Linked DNA regions of Homo sapiens: all the other regions are linked to region 3. The links are contacts of gene promoters, found by promoter capture Hi-C in blood cells and fetal thymus (Javierre and others, 2016). All regions are on one chromosome and are shown on one strand. The core of a region is centred on a gene start or on the middle of the fragment in contact, and the rest is flanking DNA. Distances in the headings are between cores, read along the strand shown.

Region 1 (3,293 bases), core at 193-2,692, 310 kb before region 3:
GACAATTACTCTGGAGCTGGTCCGCCGGTCAATCAGAATCCAATCGAATCCGTCCTTGTGGTCGGTGGATCCACGTGCCTGTACCACCTGCCACCAGCGCCCGGCGCGTTCTGTAGCCGAATCACCGCAAGTGACGGAATACACGCCCCTGGGCTCCGCCCCCTCGTAGTCGCGCCCAATCACAGATCTGACCCTCCCAGGAGTGCCCTCCCCCGGGCCACATCCAGTCACGGGCCCCGTCCTTCCAAAACACTGCCCTATCAGAGGTCAAGCTCTCTAGGCATTCCCTACCCTTTTAATGCCCCGCCCTATGACGGACCCAATCGGAGGGCTCTCCCTACCCGAAACCCCGCTCCTGGAGCGGCTTTTCTCAGGCTTGCGCGGCTCTAGGCCGAAGCGGCGGATGACGCAACCGGGCCGCGCCGCGAGAAGGTCACACGATTCTCCAACATGGCGGCGGCGGCCCTGCGGAGTGGCTGGTGCCGCTGTCCACGGGTGAGCGGCGGTGCGGCGCTGGCAGGGCGAGCTTAGGGGTCTTCTGGGCCTTCGGCCACCAAGGCTTTCTTCTCAGACCCTTGGCCTTCGCGACCCTTGCTTGGGCTCCTTAGAAAGCTTGGGGTTAGATCTTTGGGTAGCAGAGGCCAGGACAGGGGGCACAGAGCGTGGCCTGAGGGCGGGGACCGAGCTTACCGGGCAGGGGGCGGCGATGCGCGGGACCTGGGAGGGAGCTGATCACCCTTCGCCCTCTGATCAGACTCCACGTATACAGGAGAGAGAATGGTAGCCGGGGCGGCGGCGTCCCGTGGAAAAAAGTAGAGGGGAAGGCAAAAAAACGTGAAATTCACAGCTCGCGGTTAAATGCCAAGTTCTCTACCGAGAGCATTTCTTGTCTCGTTTCTTCTAACGTTCATTGTGGATGTGCGAGAGGTGGTTCGCGCCCTAGCAGGCTCTTGGGTCCACAGGGCAGTGGCAGTCAAGACGTGTAAGGCGCACTCAGAAAGTAGTACTTCATATTGCTCGTGCTCTTCGTTTTTTCTTTTTTCTCTTTTTTTTTTTTTTTTGAGACAGAGTTTCGCTCTTGTCGCCCAGTCTGGAGTGCAATGGCGCGATCTCGGCTCACTGCAACTTCTGCCTCCTTCTGCCTCCGGGTTCAAGCGATTCTCCTGCCTCAGCCTCAGGTGGATCACCTGAGGTCAGGAGTTCGAGATCCACTGGCCCACATGGTGAAATCCCATCTCTACTAAAACCCCATCTGTACTAAAAATACAAAAAAATTAGCCGGGCATGGTGGCGCGCTCCTGTAATCCCAACTACTTGGGAGGCTGAGGCAGGAGAATCACTTGAACCCGGCAGGCGGAGATTGCAGTGAGCCGAGATCCTGCCACTTTACTCCAGCCTGGGCAACAGAGGGAGACTCCGTCTCAAAAAAAAAAAAAAAAGTTATCCTCAAGTAAATACAGGAGATAGTAGGCACCTGTGTAAGTTTGGGATGTTGCATAGGGTTCTCAGAGGTAGGAGGCAGAGAACAGAGAGAAAAACGGCCCAGGAAATGTGGAAATGGTGGAGAAGTTGTACCTGGTCTTTTGACATCAACACGCCAGGTTCTGTGCTGGGTGACAGGGTGCCGAGCTGAACAGGACCTGCACAGAGCTTTTTTTTTTTCCCCCAATTTTTTATGGAGGCAGGGTCTAGCTATGTTGCCCAGGCTGGTCTCAAACTCCTGAGCTCAAACGATCCTTCCGCCTCAGCCTCCCAAAGTATCGGGATTACAGGCATGAGCCACCAGCTCAGTGCCTGCACAGAACTTAAGGCAAGATCTCGGCTCACTGCACCCTCCACCTCCCGGGTTTAAGCAATACTACAGGTGTGTGGGACTACAGGTGTGTGCCACCACGCCCGGCTAATTTTTGTATTTTTGGTAGAGACGGGATTTCACCATGTTGGCCAGGCTGATCTCGAACTCCTGACCGGGTGATCCTCCCACCTCAGCCTCCCAACGTGTTGGGATTACTGGCGTGAGCCACCGCGCCCAGCCAGCAAGTGCCTTTTACATGAGATCAGCCCAGTCTTTGCCCAGAGCGACTCCCCTAAATTACTCTGTTTATAGCTCAACCCTTGAGGAGGACATTGTAGGTTTATTCCAGAGTTGTCCCTGGGGCAACACATTATCGATGTTTGTGTCTGAAAAATCCAGTTCTCTCATCTTTGGAGGCTGGCAGAAATGGGGTGGGCTCGCAAGAGAAGACTGCTTGCCACTAGCATAGAAGCTTAGAGTGCCTACTTTCAGACTAAGGGATTAAATTGTACATTTAGCCTTCTTCCCCCCATGGGTTGGCATTTCCTGGGACCTGTCCGTTTTCCCCCAGTTTCAGGGGCACGAGGATAGATGTAGGCCCTGGAGGTACAGACACAGCATTTTCTCTTTCCACCAGCTTCTGCTTGCTTCTCAGACTTTGGGAAGATTACAGAGTGCCCGGCATGCATCAGGCATAAGATACAAATTGGCCAGTGAGGCCAGGTGCAGTGGCTCATGCCTGTAATCCCAGCACTTTGGAAAACCGGGGGAGGGGTGGATCACCTGAGGTCAGGAGTTCGAGACCAGCCTGGCCAACATGGCAAAACCGCTTCTCTCCTAAAAATACAAATATTAGCCGGATGTGATGGCGCATACCTGTAATTCCAGCTACTCGGGAGACTGAGGCAGGAGAATCGCTTGAACCCAGGAGGCATAGGTTGCAGGGAGCTGAGATCGCAGCACTGCACTCTAGCCTGAGACTCCGTCTCAAAAAAAAAAAAAAAATGGCCAGTGAGTTGCAGGTGACCCTGCTGTTTTGTGTGTGGTCTGCTTACTTCTCAGTCAACCTCTTGTTAGAATGGATCTTTCTCTTCTCTCCCCCCAATTAGAGATGCCTCGGCAGTGGAATCCAATTTCTTTCCAGCCACAACCTACCCCATGGGTCGACCTATCAGATGCGCCGGCCGGGCGGAGAGCTGCCACTGGTGAGTGACTCAGGATGCTCGGGCCAGCAGACACAGGGGAGGCCCGAAAATTCAGATCCCATTGGCAGGAGGGAGGGGTGGGGCTGTAGAGGTGGCTCGTACCATCTCGGTGGTGGGCCTTCTGTGTCCGGGGCTTTCAGAATGACAGATCCCAGTGTGCCTGGCCTTCTCGGTCCCAGAAACACTTGACCTGCCTCTTGCTTGATGTCGTAAGGGGATAAGGTGCTGTCAGAATAGCCCTTTATGTTGGCTCTAATGCTTGGAAGAGACCCCTGTATTGAACTGAATTCTAC
Region 2 (3,255 bases), core at 224-2,723, 270 kb after region 3:
AGTTGGGGTTTCACCATGTTGGCCAGGCTAGTCTAGAACTCCTGACCTCAGGTGATCTGCATGCCTCAGCCTCCCAAAGTGTAGGGATTACAGGTGTGAGCCACGGTGCCCGGCCAGTGCTTTATTTGTTTTAGGGCTGAATAATATTCAATTGCATGGAGATACCACATTTCGTGTATCCATTGATCTGTTGATGGACATTTGGGTCGTTTTCACCATTTGGTTATTTCAAATCACGCTGCCATGAACAATTGCATACAGATGTACGCAATTGCACGGATGTGTGTTTTCCATTGTCTTGGGTCGTTACCTAGGAAGGGAATTGCTGGAGTACATGCTAATCTATGCTTAGCTTTTTGAGGAACCGCTGTTATGCAGTCTCTTTTTTGAGATAGAGCCTCACTCTGTTGCCCAGGCTGGAGTGCAGTGGCGCCATCTTGGCTCACTGCAACCTCCACCTCCGGGATTTGAGTGATTCTCCTGCCTCAGCCTGTTGAGTAGCTGGGATTACACGTATGCACCACCACACCTGGCTAATTTTTTTTATTTTTAGTAGAGACGGGGGTCTTGCTACGTTGGCCAGGCTGGTCCGGAACTCCTGAGCTCAGGCAATCCCCCCGCCTTGGCCTCCCAAAGTGCTGGGATTACAGGCATGAGCCATTGCACCTGGCCTAAAACCACTGAATTGTATGCTTTAAATGGGTGAAGTATATGGTAGCTCAATAAAGCTGTTCCTAAAAAGTTTTTTGTTGGAGCCTCTTGCAGAGCTTTGGATGGGGCAGGTACACATGGGGCCTGAAGCTTCAGTTTCCATTGCTTCAAGGTAAATTTGCCCCCTGATGCCACCTGTATTCACAGATGAGTGGCTGGACAGTAACGAGCAATGCCAGGGTTTCCACCATCACTGCTTTCCAGGTTGCCCTCCCGGGCTGGTTGGAGGGACTCTGTTCAGCTGCTGTTGTTAAGCTTTGCATCTGTTCTCTTCCCCACCCAGAAGCCGAAGCAGCATCTATGACTCACAGAAACGAAACAAGCAGGCTGTGAAGGAGGAGGAAAGCCAGATGTGGGGGAGGGTCCTGGAGGTTGGTGGGAGCTTGGGAGGGGAAAGGCAGTCCCATTCCTCAGCCAAGTCCCCTTAGGGCTGGAGGAGAGCCTGCAGGGTTGGCTTGCTTCACTGGACAGGGTCCTTGTGGAGGCCTGAGGCCTCCTGTAGCCTGCAGGACCTCATGCCCTGTATCTGTGAACCCTGAAGGTCTGGGATCCAAAGATCAAAGGTGAAAGGCCAGGGTTGGCCGGGCCCAGTGGCTCACACATGTAATCCCAGCACTTTGGGAGGCCGAGGAAGGCGGATCACTTGAGGTGAGGAGTTTGAGACCAGCCTGACCAACATGGCGAAACCTAGTCTCTACTGAAAATACAAACATTAGCTGGGCATGGTGGCATGTGCTTATAATTCCAGCTACTAGGGAGGCTGACACATGGGAATCTCTTCAGCCAGGGAAGGGCAGGATGCAGTGAACTGAGATTGTGCCATTGCACTCCAGCCTGGGTGACAGAGTGAGACTCTGTCTCAAAGAAAAAAAAAAAGGAAAAGAATGAAAAAAGAAAAGAAAAGAAATGCCAGGGTTGTGTGATTGTGCATGTTTTGTTGTTGTTGTTGTTGTTGTTGTTTTGTTTCAAGAGAGTCTTGCTCTGTCACCCAGGCTGGAGTGGTTCCATCTTGGCTCACTGCAGTCTCCACCTCCTGGGTACAAGCGATTCTCCTGTCTCAGACTTCTGAGTAGCTGGGACCACCGATGTGTACCACCATGTCCAGCTAATTTTTGCATTTTTAGTTGAAATGGGGTTTCACCATGTTGGCTAGGCTAGTCTCGAACTCCTGGTCTCATATGATCCTCCCACCTCGGCCTCCCAAAGTGCTGGGATTACAGGCATGAGCCACTGTGCCTGGCTGAGTTTTGTTTTTATAGGGAAGCTTCTGACCGAGGAACAGGTTGAGCTTGACCTGATGATGAACTCAACTGTGATCCTAGTTCCCAATGACTGACTCAACTCTGATCCTAGTTTTACAGATTGAACTCCAATCTTTGTGTCACAGACTGAGCCATGATCCTGGTGTCATATACTGAGCCTTGATCCTGATATCACAGACTGAACTTCATCTGGCTGTCATTGGTTGAGCATTCATTCTTGTATCATAGAATGAACCCCCCTCCTAGTGTCATAGACTAAGCCTTTATCCTGGTGTCATATATTGATCCCTGATCCTAGTGTCATAGGCTAAGCCCTAATCCTGGTGTCATAGTCTTAGCTCTTATCCTGGTATCATAGACTGAGCCCCAATCCTGGTGTCATAGACTGAATCTTGATCTGGCATCATAGACTGAGCTCCAATCCTGATGTCATAGGCTGTGTCCTGATTCCAATATTATGAGCTAAGCCCTAATCCCAGTGTCATAGACTGAGCTCTGTCAATTACCAACCACAATTGCCCCAAACGATTGCCAATCACATTTGTCACTGATCCTCAGCTACCAGTCTCTCCCCTGTAGTCCATCTTCTGTCCTGGAGTTGGTGTGTCCTTTTGATATAACCCTCTGATGGTCACTCCCCTTCTACTGATCCCCACCCCTATAGACTCCAGTCCCCTTAGAATGACATTCAGAGCCCTCCTCAGCCTGTCCTCTTACCTCCCTGTCACACACATGCACACCCAACTCACCATTCTCCTGGTATCTCTGTGCTGTTCCTACCACTCTTCCTGCCTGGCAACTGAGGGCTCTGTCTCAGATCCTCTGCAGACAATTTTAGCCATAGGACTTTGGATTGCTCTGCCTAGCTCTTTATAGAAAAGGTTTGCTGATCCATGCTCTAGAGCATGAGGTCTGTGAGGGCAGTGACTATATCTGATCCACTTTTACATCCCCAAGCTCCAAAAGGTAAAATCTTGTATCAATCACTTTCTATATGTCTGGCTTAGTGCTAAGCCCATCATGTACTTTTCACTCTTCTATACTCACAGCAACTCTGAGTCCTCATTTTATAGAAAGGGAAACTGAGGTTTAGAGAGGTGCACTGACTTTACCAAGGCCATACCAATCTGGTATGAGGTAGAGCTGGGAGTCAAATTCAGATGTTTCTGAATTCAAAGAAGAGATCCCAATCACCAGGCTATCCTCTGCTGTGTTGGGTTGGGCACAGAGTCAGTGCCCATATATTTGGATAAATGGGTAGATAAATGGATAGATGGTTGGA
Region 3 (3,329 bases), core at 1-2,500:
GAGCCAAAGGCCTCCAGAGCCCCACATCAGGGCAGGGTCGGCTTATGGGAGGCAGACATTAGTCCCCAGCAGACTGCTGCCCCACACCCTCTCCCACCCCTGGAATGAACCCTCAAACACTCCTCTTATGCCCACCTTGCGCTGTATGACATCGTCCTCAAACCACTCGGCCTGATTGGAAACCCAGAACATAGCCACAGGGAAAGTGAGGTAGATTATCATCTGGAATGGCAGAGGGTGGGTGAGGTGAGCTCCCCCCAAGCAATGTGCAGAGGCTCCTCAGAGCCTGGGGGACCCATCCTACTGCAGAGTCCAGAAGCGCCTCGTTACGGCCGACCCAAGAATCCCAGAACTCCCACCAAGGGTACAGAAACCTCGCACCCTAAAACCTAACTCCTATAATCCAGGAGGCCTCATTCCTGAAAGTTCCCTCTGAGCTGGAGTCTTCCTCTCAAACACAGACAGACACACAGACGCCCCAGCTACAATCAAAAGCATCTCCTCGAGACCTCATTACCCATCCCCACTTAAGATCCCGGGAGCACCCCCAAACCCAGGAGGCGTCACTCTTCAACTCCACTTCTCGAAGTCTAGGAATCTCCCTGTCATAGACACCCACCCACCACGAGCCCGAGAGCTCCCCCAGGATCTTAAGTCTTCCTTCTTTAGAGCCCCCTTCTCAGCTCACCCCTCTCTGAGGTCCTTCCTCGGACCAGCCCTCTCACAGCCCCCAAACCCAGAAGCCCAAATCCGAGAACCCCCCCAGCCCAGCGTCCCCTCTCCTGGATTTCCAACCAGAAAGGTTCCTCTCAAATCTTAAGAGCTTTCTCCTTGGAGCTCCCTCTTCCTTTGAAGTCCCCCCATTTCCAACCTCATCTTCAGATCCAGGAAGATCCCCTGCCCAGCCTCCCAACCCACTCCTGTGTCCACTGACCCGAAATATCTCCAGCTTCACCCCCATCTCGTTTCTCCCGGTCAACAAAGCCAGTTCCGCCCAAAGCCGACCCTCCAGCAAGACAGAAGCTCACTGGTGTTTTGCACGCTCCATTGCTGAAGCTGATTGGCCAATGTGTATCCTGATGGCGCATCTTCTGGCGCCTCTATTCTGCTTCCGGTCGCTGGCGTCGTCGAAAAGAAGTCAATAACGTGGGCCTGTCCGTCAAAAATGATTTAACCAATAGAAAACGGGTCTGGCTCGGAGGGGCGGGCCGTCAGTGGTAGACGTCATAAGCGCGCGACTCTCTCCTGTACCTGGGCATCCAGAAAAATGGTGGTGATGGCGCGACTCTCGCGGCCCGAGCGGCCGGACCTTGTCTTCGTGAGTCCACAGAGGAGCCGGGGGTGGCCTGCGTTGGGGCATTGGGACCTGGACGCCGCAGGGGATCGAGGCTGGGTCGGCAAGGAGATTTAGGCCGAAACTGCCAGGCCAAGGTCTGGGAACCCTAATGGGCCAGAGACCGGATCGTCATGTCCGCACCGAACTGTCCAGGAGTAAAAATATGGTGTTGTATCTTCGGGTCTGAGTAGAAAACCACTGTCGAAGGGAAGCGTCTAGCCTCCCGAACCAGGGGCGGAAATGGGGGCGTGCAGGGAATGGGAGAGGAGGAAGATCGCATAACTGAACCTTGAGAGGTGAAGATCGGTGTCTGAAGTAAAGGCTTGCTTACGAGGCCAGGGTTCTGGTTTCTGGGATGAAGGCTTGGTTTTCTGGATAGCGGTCTCTAGGCCTGGACTGCAGCATGACAGTTTCTGGGGTGGTGGCCAGGCTAGAAGAACCCTGGTGATGTGGAGCTTGTCAGGCGATGGCCAGTGAAATACTTACTCTCTGGAGTAGAGGCGTGACATCTTCACCAGATTCTTGGTGTGCAGAGTTAAAGGCTTGGCTTCTGGTGTATAACTCCTCCTGTGAGATAAAGGCCTAGCTTTTAATTTCTGGGGCAGAGTTGAGCTAGACGCTGGCTAGTGGGATCCTGGGGGCGGGGCTAGTGGCTTGGAATCTGGACCTGAGAGCCCTGGTGGCTGGGGTAAAGATCTGGTCATCTGGGCCTGGGGTGGAGATGGGTCAGATGGTGACAGTGGGAGTCTGAGGGGCCAAAGGCCTGGTGTCTGGGAAGAGGCACGTTTTGAAGAAGTGGGGTCTGGTGTCCAGGACTGGCATCTGGGCCAGGGCCTTGGTATCTAAGGAGTCTGACCATCTGGGGCAGAAAGCGAGTGGTGATGCGGACTCATTCCTGGCCCAGAGCCCTAATGACTGAGAAGTCTGATGATTTGGGTTCGATTTTGGGTAGTTGAATTCTGAGGGGTAAAGGTCTGGGCCACTGTCTTGGTGTCGGGCATCTGGTTTGGTGCCTGGGCATCTGGTGACCTGACTTCCTTGGTGGGTGGTGGGATCTAGGTAAAAGTCCGGAGTTTGGACCTGAGCCCCAGCAGTGGGATGGTGCTGCACACAGGCTCTGAGGGTAGGCCTCTCTTCTTCCCATTCCCTGGCCCTGGCAGGAGGAAGAGGACCTCCCCTATGAGGAGGAAATCATGCGGAACCAATTCTCTGTCAAATGCTGGCTTCGCTACATCGAGTTCAAACAGGGCGCCCCGAAGCCCAGGCTCAATCAGCTATACGAGCGGGCACTCAAGCTGCTGCCCTGCAGGTGGGAATGGCTCCAGCTGCCCTGCCCACCAGCCCCCACCCCACCTGGTCCAGTTATAACAAAACTGCCAAGTGGGTCCCGGGTCCCGGGTGATTGCTTCGTGTTTCATCACTGACCTGTACATCCCTTGATGGGTCAGCACACCTTCTCTGATGTCCCAGTCTGTCCCTGTCATTGCTGAGACATGTCACCCCTCCCACACCCCTTCTTCCCACATTTGCCAACTGGGGCAGGGCAAATGGTTCTGGGGGTGTCCATAAAGCTGACCGATCAGCATCTGTCCCCTCCTATTCCCCAGCTACAAACTCTGGTACCGATACCTGAAGGCGCGTCGGGCACAGGTGAAGCATCGCTGTGTGACCGACCCTGCCTATGAAGATGTCAACAACTGTCATGAGAGGGCCTTTGTGTTCATGCACAAGGTTTGGGGCTCGGCGAGGGGATGAATCGGGAAGTGGAGCTCAGTCCATGGTGGTGGGTGGGGCGGGGACAGGGGCTGGGCTCAGCATGTTAGGGATGGGGGCTTGGATTCCTGTTGCTTCTTTGCATGGGAAGTTGGGCTGGACTCAGTCCTGGAGCTGGGGGTTTCTGGGTCCCGCCGCATTTATGTGGTGGCCCCAGGTGTGGCTCAGCCACAGGACATCGAGTGTCTGTGGCCAGGCCATGGAGTCCGTGGCTTAGCCC

What was found. The method cuts DNA at HindIII sites, captures the fragments that hold promoters and counts their contacts. A CHiCAGO score of 5 or more calls a contact.
Region 1: a fragment that was not itself captured here is called in contact with the fragment with the promoter of XAB2 in region 3 in 1 of 17 cell types (naive B cells); the score reaches 5.3 in naive B cells.
Region 2: a contact is called between a fragment that was not itself captured here and the fragment with the promoter of XAB2 in region 3, in 2 of 17 cell types (M0 macrophages and M1 macrophages). The highest score is 6.5, in M0 macrophages.

The regions. Positions count from the first base shown.
Region 1 is chr19:7,940,809-7,944,101 of GRCh38, reverse strand. It overlaps TIMM44 (translocase of inner mitochondrial membrane 44), which reads left to right and starts at 436. Exons shown (of 13, transcript NM_006351.4): 1 at 436-495; 2 at 2,905-3,000. The coding sequence starts at 451. RefSeq lists a silencer at 233-302 and enhancers at 1-328, 333-702, 329-871, 872-1,415. The HindIII fragment of the contact is 1,655 bases long and covers 615-2,269 here.
Region 2 is chr19:7,358,571-7,361,825 of GRCh38, reverse strand. The region is part of intron 1 of ARHGEF18 (Rho/Rac guanine nucleotide exchange factor 18); the gene reads right to left. Among named protein-coding and RNA genes, the nearest start is that of ARHGEF18, 11 kb to the right of the region's middle. The HindIII fragment of the contact is 1,009 bases long and covers 969-1,977 here.
Region 3 is chr19:7,627,466-7,630,794 of GRCh38, reverse strand. It overlaps XAB2 (XPA binding protein 2), which reads left to right and starts at 1,250. Exons shown (of 19, transcript NM_020196.3): 1 at 1,250-1,318; 2 at 2,497-2,645; 3 at 2,944-3,067. The coding sequence starts at 1,268. It overlaps PET100 (PET100 cytochrome c oxidase chaperone), which reads right to left and starts at 1,002. Exons shown (of 4, transcript NM_001171155.2): 1 at 935-1,002; 2 at 136-222. The coding sequence starts at 961. It also overlaps a transcript of STXBP2 not described here. RefSeq lists enhancers at 909-958, 1,219-1,338. The HindIII fragment of the contact is 14,766 bases long and covers 1-3,329 here.